Linked DNA regions of Homo sapiens: region 1 is linked to region 2. Evidence: promoter capture Hi-C in 16 types of primary human blood cells and fetal thymus (Javierre and others, 2016). All regions are on one chromosome and are shown on one strand. Each heading gives the region's core, a stretch centred on a gene start or on the middle of the fragment in contact. The rest is flanking DNA. Distances are from core to core; before and after follow the strand shown. Region 1 has its middle 4.6 kb from the start of ENOX2. Region 2 holds the start of UTP14A (UTP14A small subunit processome component).

Evidence for each region. Contacts are between HindIII fragments. The CHiCAGO score rates a contact against its expected background, and 5 or more counts as called.
Region 1: a contact is called between a fragment that was not itself captured here and the fragment with the promoter of UTP14A in region 2, in 3 of 17 cell types (naive CD8 T cells, activated CD4 T cells and non-activated CD4 T cells). The highest score is 8.0, in naive CD8 T cells.

What each region holds. Positions count from the first base shown.
Region 1 is chrX:130,905,071-130,910,594 of GRCh38, forward strand. No RefSeq gene overlaps it. Among named protein-coding and RNA genes, the nearest start is that of ENOX2, 4.6 kb to the left of the region's middle. The HindIII fragment of the contact is 1,296 bases long and covers 780-2,075 here.
Region 2 is chrX:129,901,942-129,907,565 of GRCh38, forward strand. It overlaps UTP14A (UTP14A small subunit processome component), which reads left to right and starts at 4,223. Exons shown (of 15, transcript NM_006649.4): 1 at 4,223-4,295; 2 at 5,426-5,501. The coding sequence starts at 4,270. It overlaps LOC105373335 (a long non-coding RNA gene), which reads right to left. Exons shown (of 3, transcript NR_188631.1): 3 at 5,323-5,624. The HindIII fragment of the contact is 20,573 bases long and covers 1-4,655 here.

The DNA of each region.
Region 1 (5,524 bases), core at 178-2,677, 1.0 Mb after region 2:
CGAGACCAGCTTGGGCAACATAATGAGACCTTGTCTCTACAAAAAATCAAGAAAATTAGCCAGGCATAGTGGCGCATGCCTGTAGTCCCAGCTACTCAGGAAGCTGAAGCAGGAGGATCCCTTGAGCTTGGAAAGTTAGGGCTGCAGTCAGCCGATATTGTACCACTACACTCGAGTGTAGTGGGTGATAGAGCAAGACTCTGTCTCAAAAAAAATTAAAAAATTAAAAAAAGAAAGAAAAAAGAGAAAAAGAAAAATCACCTCATTTCAGCCATAAAAAGGAGTGAAACAAGGCATTTTCAGTATTATGGCCACCAGAAAAACATTGTGTGAATCAAATGCAGAATTTCTTTTCTCAGCTTTGTCTCCTTTCTTTTTATCTTTTTTTCCATGACTCTTTACTTTGATTTGATCATTGATTTCAAAGTATTTGCAGAGCACCTACTATGTTCCATACACTATGACAGGTTTTGGGTTTTAATGGTGAGTTAAAACATGGGTTCCTGTTCATCAAAGTATTTCTAGCAGGAAATGGAATAATCAGATGGAGTTGGTAGATGTGGAAAGTGAGAGACGGGGAGGAGTCCATTACGACTCCCAAGTTCTGACTTGGAAGACTAAGTGTATGGTAGTACCATTCACTGAGATATTGAACCTAGAAAGAATAGCAAGTTTTGTGAAGAATAGGAGGAAATCAGTTTTGAACATTTAAAATTTGAAGAGTCTGTGGAACTTTTGGTTGGAGATGCCTGATAGGCTGCTGAGAAATGCCGGTCGGAAGCTTGGGAGAGAGGTCTTGCTTGGAACTAAACATTTGGGAGACATTAGTATAATATAGAGGGCAATTAAATAAGTGAAAAATTGTTTAAACTTTACTTAGAGAGTATTTTTTTTTTTGAGACGGTTTCTTACCCTGTTGCCTAGGCTGGAGTGCAGTGGCACAATCTCGGCTCACTGCAACCTCTGCCTCCTGGGTTCAAGTGATTCTCCTGCCTCAGCCTCCCGAGTAGCTGGGATTACAGGTGCCTGCCACCACAGCTGGCTATTTTTTTTTTTATTTTTAGTAGAGATGGGGCTTCACTGTGTTGCCCAGGCTGGTCTCGAACTCCTGACGTCAAGTGATCCACCCGCCTCAGCCTCCCAAAGTGCTGGGATTACAGGCGTGAGCCACTGTGCCCAGCCAATTTAGAGAGTATTTAGAATAATAGTTTTTAAAAAGACAAAGATTATGGAATCCTGGAAAATAATGATATTCAAGTAGCAAGTAGAAGAAGAGATGCCTTCCAAGGAAGCTGAGAGGGAATGCCCAAACAGATGAACCAAGAGAAAACAAAGTAGAATTACTGGCATATATTACAGAGAGGTCAAGTAGCAGGACAGAATAGTAAGAAGAAATTACTCCTTCATCAATATAACAAGTTTTTATTGAGTACCTATAATGTGCCAGACATTATTCTAGATGCTGGGAATAGAGAAGTGGAAAACACATACAACATCCCTTCCCTTTGGAGGCTATATTCTGTTAGGAAGAAGCCATCAACAAACAAGATAAATAATTAAAATACATAGCTGTGATAAGTAATATTTCTTACTGTGTATGTCACAGCTGTGTATGGCTATTTCTGTATGGTGATATAAATACACACACACACACATATATATATCTCCAATAAGCCATATGGAAATTTTATATATAATATATAAAACATATCTATATCTCCAATAAGCCATACAGAAATTTTATATATAATATATATTATATATAAGCACAAATGTATACATATATTTGTATGTGTATATACAAACGTGATACTCTTTGGTCTGTTGTTATATAATAAGATGAATTTGTGAAATACTGGCCCAGGGTCAAACAGTCTGGCTGGATTCAGAGAACAATTAGGAAGTCAAGGTTAGAGCTGTATCCAGAGCCAGTGTAGAGCCCAGGTCAAGGCCAGGGTTCATGTGTATAATGTGGAATGTATTTAGCTTCAATCTTTTCTCAGGTTAAGATTTAGTAAGTCTGTAGCTGTTTTTACAGGCCATTGTGGATTCAGGATCAGAAGACCATCAAACCAAGCTTAGGGTTAAGCCTGATAGCAATATTAGGCCCCAGATTTAGAGCCATGGTTCAGTCTGTGTCACAGATTAAAGTGCATTTCTGACCACTCTGGACTAACAGCAGCCTCAGGGTGTTAAAGCTCACTCTGAGGCTGCTGTAAGTCTAGAGTGGCCTGGTTTATGAAGTCAAGGTGCAAGATTTGGGTTCAAATTTTGGCCAGAATTAGGATTTAGTCTGTGTGTAGGAAGAGGCCTCATTCTAAAATTAGAGTTAGGGCTCAGTCTGTGGACCAGACTTAGACCACACCCAAGGTTAGGGCTCAGCTCAATGTTTGACTTTAGTTTTTGATCAATGTTGGAATCACTTTCATTTCTAGACTTGAAAGTCAATAAAGGCCAGGACCATGGCTCTGCCTGGGATTAGTCTTCATGCTGATGATGTTGCCTAGGAAAAAATGAAGTAAGAATATGAACAGGATTTATGTTCAGTCTTTCTTCAGGTTAAGTTTCAATTCGTATTCATGGTTAGAGTTTATTCTGGGTCCAATAATTAAGTCTCAGTCCGTGGCCAATGGTAAGGCACAGTCAATGTCTAATATTCAGTCTGTTGCCATGTTAGGACATTACCTGTCATGTGCCCTAGAGCCTTGTCTCAAACCAGAGTTAGCATTTCATATATGGACAAAATTATGATACAGTTTGTGGCCAGGATTTCAATGATGAATATGAACAGGATTTGGGATGCATATTTGGCTAGAGTAAGTTCAAGGTGTGGTTTCTGACTTTAGCCAGTGTCAGGATTCTGTCTTTGTCCATAGCTCATATCAACAATGTTCTATGGAGCTAACTCACAGTGGCCTGTGTTGGCCCTCATTCTGTGGCCAGAGCAGGGCTCAGTCGGTGACCTGTATTAGCCATTTCAATTTGACCACTATCAGAGTTGAGTCTGGAGGGAGTAATTCCACTATGACTTTATGTAGCATTTGTGTTCACTGAGTATTGGTGGTAGTGCTATCTGATTAAACTTGTACCAGAGTTTGGGAGTTACCAATAACCAAGGTAAGGCTTACTATGAAGAAGGTTTTAAGGCTAAGAGTGTAAACAGGTTTTTTGGATTAGCTGTTGATGTTATTTGTCAGTCAGTGGATAGAGTTGAGATGAGAACAAACAACACATAAAATCCAGATTGAAAGCTTTAGAGGCTCAGGCTGTAATCAGGGTTTTGGGATCAGGATGTTGCCAGGGTTTGAGTTCAGAGTGTTCATTGCCTGTTGTCAGTCTGGCACTTAGACTCTGGCTTAGTGTAGCAGGCATTTCGGTATCAGTAGTAGAGTTCAGTCTTTGCTAATTGTTAGTGACCATAATGTGCCCAGTGCCATGGGTACATCTATTCACAATTGAGGACTAAGTTTGTGACCAGACTGATTGCTCAACCTCCAGCTAGTGCTAGGACTCAGTTTGTGGCCACTAATACAGTGAACTTTGTTTATGGGTTTAAGACTTGATATGTGACAAAGGTGAGTACTTAGTCTCAGCCTGTTGTTAGATCTGATAATATGAGCAGGATTTTGATTTAGTCTTGTAGGGTCAGGAATCATTTCTCTAACCAGGCTTAGGGCTTGGCCTTTAGGTCTCAGACTGTGGTGGGACTTACAGTCTTCATCCCAGCTCAGTATTCAGAATGTGGCCAGGAAGAGGGCTCAGATCTTAGCCATGGTGAGTTCCGTCTGTGCTCAGGGTTAGAATTAAATCTGTTGCAGGGTTTTAGGCCAAGAAAATGAAAAGTATTTGTTTTGTCTTTGTCTAGTTTGTCCTTCATTCATCTTCAAGGTTTGGGTTCAGTCTCTGCCCAGTGCTGGTGAGCAGCTTAATTTCTGGTATTAGGAATCAGTCGGTAGCCAGGGTTAAAGTTAAAGTTGTGGTTGAAATTGGGATCCAGTCTCGGGTGAACATTTAGCCAGAGATAGGGTTCAGTCTATCTCAAAAATTCAGGATCAGTCATTAGCCATTTGGAGAAATCAGATTTATTTTCAGGTTGAAAGCTCATGTCAGAGGTTAGGCTTATGGGCTCAGTCTGTGATGAGAGTTAGGAATTCAGTCTATGGCTAGAGTTAGAGATGCAGTCTGTAACCAGTTAGAAGCTGTAAGGTTTAGGGGTCAAATCAGTGGCCAGTGATAGGGCTCAGTCTGTCCCAGGATCAGTAGATTATTTCCTGATCAGATTTATGAACCCAGTCTCTGTCCAGGTTTAGAACTTGGGCTTTGAACATGGTTAAGACTCAGTTTGTGGCCATGTTCAGGGTTCTGTCTATAGTCAGGATTAGGACATATGCTGTGGTCAAAATATTCTCAAGTTTTGTGGAAGATTTGGTTTCACTTCTTGGCCATGATTAAGGCACAGAGTTGGGACAAGTTTAGAGTCTGGTCTCTGTACATGTTTTCGTCTCTGTATGAGGCCAAGTTTAGTAGTCATTCTGTTGCCAATGTTGGGGTCATTTTCTGGTTAGTGCTAAGTCTGGGAAATTGTAGCTGGGTTGGTTTCCAAGATCAGATCTCAGGCTGTGACCAAGTTAGAGCCTCAGTCTGTAGTCAGGGCTAGAGCTCAGTTAGTATCTATGCTGAGCACTCATTTTGTGGTCAGTTCAGGATGTTAAGTATATCCCAGAGTTAGGTCATGCAGTCTGTAGCCTAGTTTAGAGACTCAGCCTGGGGACAGACTTAGGGGCTATATCTGATGTTATTTTTGATCCCTGTATCGTGAATTAAGGACTTATACAGTAGCCATAGTTATGGTTCAATAGGGGATCAGGGTTAGAGATTCAGGTTGGGACCAGTCTTAAGTACTTACTCTTGGGCCAGATGTAGACAGTCAGTATGTAACTAGGCCTAGGGACTTGATTTAATCAGGATTAAGACCTTGGAGTGTGGCCAGAAAGTGGCTCAGTTTGTGGATAGAATTAGGGTCTTCATTTGTGGCCAGGGTTAAAGGCTTGGTGTGAAATTGGAGTTAAGCCTCCAAGTTCAGAGTTAGGAGTTTAGGCTATGTCTTGGGTTAGGTGTTTGGCTGGTGGTCAGGGTTAAACACAGGATCTGCATTCAGTGTTGGCAGCTTGCTCTGTGACCAAGCTTAAGAGACTGTTTGCTCAGCCTGTGGTGATAGTGATTGGTAATTATACATCAATAAAGTTGTCATAAAAGGTTAAAAAAGTGGATTCATACAAGTGAAATGGTAGGAATGATGCAGGGAAGAAACCATAAAGAGAGGCCGTTTACTGAATCAGGACCAGCAATGTCCTTGGTGTCTCAGAATTTTTGCTTAAGAAGGACAGGGCAAGCACATGAGATTGAGAAGAAAGGAAAGAACTGGTGACCAGGGAGCTGGTAACCCTGGGAAGTAGATATGTGCTTCTTGAAGGACAGACATTTTTATAAATTGTGGAATTAATGCAAGTTGGAAAACCTTGCA
Region 2 (5,624 bases), core at 2,973-5,472:
TCGCTCTGTCGCCCAGGCTGGAGTGCAGTGGCGCGATCTCAGCACACTGCAAACTCCACCTCCTGGGTTTTAAGCAACTCTCTCAGCCTCAGCCTCCCGAGTAGCTGGTATTCTAGGCACCCACCACCACACCTGGCTAATTTTTGTATTTTTAGTAGAGACGGGGTTTCGTCATGTTGGCCAGGTCTTGAACTCCTGACCTCAGGTGATCCACCTGCCTCGGCCTCCCAAAGTGCTTGGATTACAGGCGTGAGCCACCAAGCCCGACCTTTATATACTTTAAATCATCTCTAGATTACTTATAATACCCAATACAATGTGAATGCTATGTAAATAATTATACTGTATATTGTTTTATTGTATTCTTAGTATTGTTTTGGGTTTTTCTTTGTTGCTCTTTCCCAAATATTTTCTTTTATTTGTTTTTAAAAATAGAGATGGAGTCTCACTCTGTTGCTCAGGCTAGTCTTGAACTCCTGGGCTCAAGTGATCCTCCCGCTTTGGCCTCCCAGAGTGCTGGGATTACAGGGTAAACCACCATGCCAGGCCTATTATCCCCATTTTAAAGATGAGAAAACAGCCTGGGCGGGGTGACTCACGCCTGTAATCTCAGCACTTTGGGAGGCCAAGGCGGGTGGATCACTTAAGGCCAGGAATTCGATATCAGCCTGGCCAATGTGGCAAAACCCTGTCTCTACTAAAAATACAAAACAAAAACAACAACAACAACAATTAGCCAGGCGCGGTGGCGCATGCCTGTAATCCCAGCCCCTCAGGAGGCTGAGGCAGAAGAACTGCTTGAACCCGGGAGGCAGAGATTGCAGTGAGCCGAGATCGAGCCACTGCACTCCTGCGTGGGTGACAGAGCAAGACTCCGTCTCTAAATAAATAAATAAGAGGAAACAAAGGCACAGAGAGTTAAGGGACTTACTCAAAAATTATAAACTAGGTCGGGCACAGTGGCTCACGCCTATAATCCTAGCAGTTTGGGAGGCCGAAGCGGGTGGATTGCCTGAGTTCAGGAGTTCGAGACCAGCCTGGGCAACATGGTGAAACCCCGTCTCTATTAAGATACAAAAAATTAGCTGGGTGTGGTGGCGTATGCCTGTAGTCCCAGCTACTTGGGAAGCTGAGGCAGGAGAATTGCTTGAACCCGGGAGGTGGAGGTTGCAGTGGGCCAAGATCACGCCACTGCACTCCAGCCTGGGTGACAGAGCGAGACTCCGTCTCCCCCAACCCCCCCAAAAAATTATAAAACTAGTAAGTGACAGAGCTAAGATTCAATCCCAGAGTCCAGCTTTAAAACTCAGGTTCTTCATCATGAAATGTATTTATTCGTTCATTCTTCATATTTCATGAGTATGAAAATGCTATAATGCTCCCCCTTTCTATAAGATTACTGCAATACCACAGGCTTCAAATTGCAAAGGTCTGAACTAATACAATGGCAAACATGATGGAGAAAGGTAAGGAGATATTTGAAAGAGACTCAGGGAAGTAAAACTGATAATGTGGGCAAACAGCTGTGGAGCATAAGGGGGAGGGGAATCTAAGATGACTCTCAGACTTCTGATTTTACTAACTGGGTAGTTGATGGGCCAATCATACAAATGGGAAATTCAGGAAAGGAACTCTGGTGGAAAAGATAGAAATTATTGGTCATTTTATGTTTGATGTGCTTGTGGGGCAAAAAGAATAGCCAGGAGGCAATCAGATATACCAGTCTGGAGCTCAAGAAAGAGATTAGGGCTAGAGATATAAATTTTGTTCTCATACAGCTGTTAAAGGCAATTTCACTTAGGAAGAGTATCTGTAATAAATAAAGAGGGCTTAGAGCAGAATTCTCGGAAACATCATCATTTAGGGAGTAAGCATATTAAAAGTATATTAAAAGCATCCAGCAGAGAAGACTGAGGAAGATGGTCATAGGGCTGATACCAGGAGAGAATGGTGTCATGAAATCTCAGGATGGAGTTTCAACAATGACAAAATTGTCTTTAATCCCACTAGAAAGTAAGCTCTAGGAAGCAATGGGACATATCTGCTTTGTTCACCAATGTATTCCCAATGCCTAGAGGCTTGGCACATACTAGATGGCCAAAAATATTTCATGAATAAGAAAACAAATCGGCTGGGTGCGGTGGCTCACGCCCATAATCCCAGCACTTTGGGAGGCCATGGTGGGAGGATCACCTGAGGCCAGGAGTTCGAGACCAGCCTGGCCAACATGGCGAAACTCCATCTCTGCTAAAAATACAAAAATTAGGCTGGGCGCGGTGGCTCACGCCTGTAATCCCAGCACTTTGGGAGGCCGAGGAGGGCGGATCACGAGGTCAGGAGATCGAGACCATCCTGGCTAACACGGTGAAACCCCATCTCTACTAAAAATACAAAAAATTAGCCGGGCATGGTGGCATGTGCCTGTAGTCCAGCTACTCGGGAGGCTGAGGCAGGAGAATCACTTGAAACAGGGAGGCAGAGGTTGCAGTGAGCTGAGATTGTGCCACTGCACTCCAGCCTGGGTGACAGAGCGAGACTCCGTCTCAAAAAAAAAAAAAAAACAAAAATTAGCCAGGCGTGGTGGCGCATGCCTGTAATCCCAGCTACACGGGAGGCTGAGGCAGGAGAATCACTTGAACCCAGGAGGCGGAGGTTACAGTGAGCCAAGATCGCGCCACTGCACTCCAGCCTTGGCAACAAGAGCGAAACTCCGTCTCAAAAAAAAGAAAAGAAAAGAAAAGAAAAGAAAAGAAAAGAAATCAACAGTTACTAAATGCCACACAAAGTTCTGGGAAGCCAAAGACTGAGAGGTATCCGTTTTATTTAGCAACTTTGGGTGTCGCTGATCTTGTCCAGAGCAATTTCTGTGGAATAATGGGGCAAAAGCAAAATGGGAATGGATTACAAGAATGAAAAGAACGGGCCGGGCGCCGTGGCTCACGCCTGTAATCCTAGCACTTTGGGAGGCCGAGACGGGTGGATCATGAGGTCACGAGATCGAGACCATCCTGGCTAACACGGTGAAACCCCGTCTCTACTTAAAAAAAAAAAAAAAATTAGCCGGGTGTGGTGGCAGGCGCCTGTAGTCCCAGCTACTCAGGAAGCTGAGGCAGGTGAATGGTGTGAACCCGGGAGGCGGAGCTTGCAGTGAGCTGAGATCGCACCACTGCATTCCAGCGTGGGCGACGGAGTGAGACTCCGTCTCAAAAAAAAAAAATGAAAAGAATGTTCTTGTCTATTATTTTTCTACAATCATTAATTAATATATATATATATTAGGCCGGGCCCGGTGGCTCACACCTGTAATCTCAGCACTTTGGGAGGCCGAGGCGGGCAGATCACTTGAGGCCAGGAATTCTAGACCAGCCTGGCCAACGTGGCAAAACCCCGTCTCTACTAAAAATGCAAATATTAGCCGAGCATGGTGGCGGGTGCCTGTAATCCTAGCGACTCGGGAGGCTGAGGCAGGAGAATCGCTTGAACCCGGGAGGTGGAGGTTGCAGTGAGCTGAGATCACGCCATTGCACTCCAGCCTGAACGACACAGCAAGGCTCTGTCTCAAAAATAAATAAATAAAATTCTTAAAAGTTGATGGGAGAAAAAAAGTTGTTTAAAAAAATTTTTTTAAGTTGATGGGAGGTGAGGAAGCGTAGTTACTGATGGCCCCTTCTTGGATAAAAAAAATCTTTTGACTCAGGAAATGAAGAACAAAGCTGCAATTACAAGGGATCAAAGGCGATTTTTCCTTAAATGGAAGGAAACTTGTTATGTTCACCATCGGATCTCCGGGGCCCGGCACAATCTGGCCACTTAATAGGCATTCAATAAACCCCCGAGCTGGCTTGTGGTCGGCTTGCAGGACGCCGTCGCACAAGGACGGGCGCTGTAGTCTTTCCTTCTGGATTCTGCAGTGACGAATGAAGGCGCGGGCTCAGCCCCTGAGAGCGCAGCACCGTCGCCCTAAGCTAACCCACCTTGGGCCACGTGGAAACCAGGGGCCAGGAGGACAGACACCCGCGCGCCAGAGAAATACGGGGTGGGTGGAGAAAGGAATGCCCCACCCGCTGACAGCCGTTTCATCTCAGGCCTCCCAGTTTTCTGCAGGCCCCTCCCTACACGGCTCCTGCTTCTCTCACGCCTCGTACGGAACGGAAGTGACGTGTACGTCGCGAGCGATTGACGGAAACAGAAATTGCTTTGCGGCCCGCACGGAAATTGCTTTCCTTCGGCTTCCGTTCTTGGTCCATGTGAGAGAAGCTGGCTGCTGAAATGACTGCGAACCGGCTTGCAGAGAGGTGAAGGGCAACGAGGGGAGGGGGGATTCTGGGTCTCGTTGGGGGCCGGGTTCCCCAGCTTTTGGGAAATGGGAGCCCCCCCTTTAACAGATGGCAGTGGTTCCCCTGAAGAGCTGGCCATTCGTTCCTATTTTCCGCGATCCAGCCTTTAAAGCCCTTTTAATTTAATTTCATTCGCTTACTCCGCTCCTCAGCTGTATAGCCGCATCCCTGTTGGTCCTGATGCTGTTTCTGCCTCCCCAGCTCATTTACTGTGTTTCACATTTTTCGTCACGTGGCCCCTTTTTCTGCCTCTGTCGCGGCCCGATTTAATCCTCTGCGCAGGCAGTGCAGGCGTTATAAACTCCCCGAATCTTGGAAAGCTTTGCTGATTGGAGTCATCCACCACGTTTTGGCTCCTGTGATGTTTTGTGCCCCCCCCACCCCGCCCCCGGAACTAAATGTAGTCCGTTTAGTAATGTTGGCTTTGCAAATACTAATAATATATGCTGTTAGGTAATGGTACATTTTATAATTTGTTTGTGGGTACCAATCTCCTTAGTTAAGCACCTACTTTACTAAGCAAGCCCCAGGGAAAGTGGCTTACCCAGCTGCTTTCGACCTGTTTCTCCATTCCTGGGAACAAGGATCAAGATAACACTTTTGATTAGGCTGCCTATCAATGAGTCAAATATATGGAGGATGCTTAGAAATATTAATCGTGAAACTGCCTTGCCTCCAGGGCTAGCTAGCAACAGCGTCTTTGGCCATATTATTCTAGGGTCTGACATTTTTACAGCTTCCCATAGGTCATAGGAAATGTTGTGCCAATCCCTGAAAAGTGATAGCTCTTTTACATGCAGTTTTGAAGTCAGGCATCACTCTTGGAGGTGATGCCTGACTTCAGTCTAAATTTCACATCTTGACAAGTTTCCAAAGGCATTCACGCTGCTTTATATATCTTCTGAGGGATAGGGCTATTCTGTGCTGAAATTACAATGTTTTCGAGATTGTTTTAATAGATTAGACATTGCTTCAAATAATAATATTTCTTTTTTTAATTTCGACTTTTATTATAATTAAGGGATACATATGCAGGTTTGTTACATGGGTATATTGCATTCACATTTCTCTGTTGCCTCTTTTAACAGCCTTCTGGCTTTGAGCCAACAGGAAGAACTAGCGGATTTGCCAAAAGACTACCTCTTGAGTGAGAGTGAAGATGAGGTGGGTGACAATTGCTAAACTGCCTTCAAAATTAGGGTAGAGAGCACATTCCTGGAATGGAAGGGTGTGACAATGTTCTATGTATTTGTTCAGGTCTCTCAAATAAATTGCAAATGGTTAGTG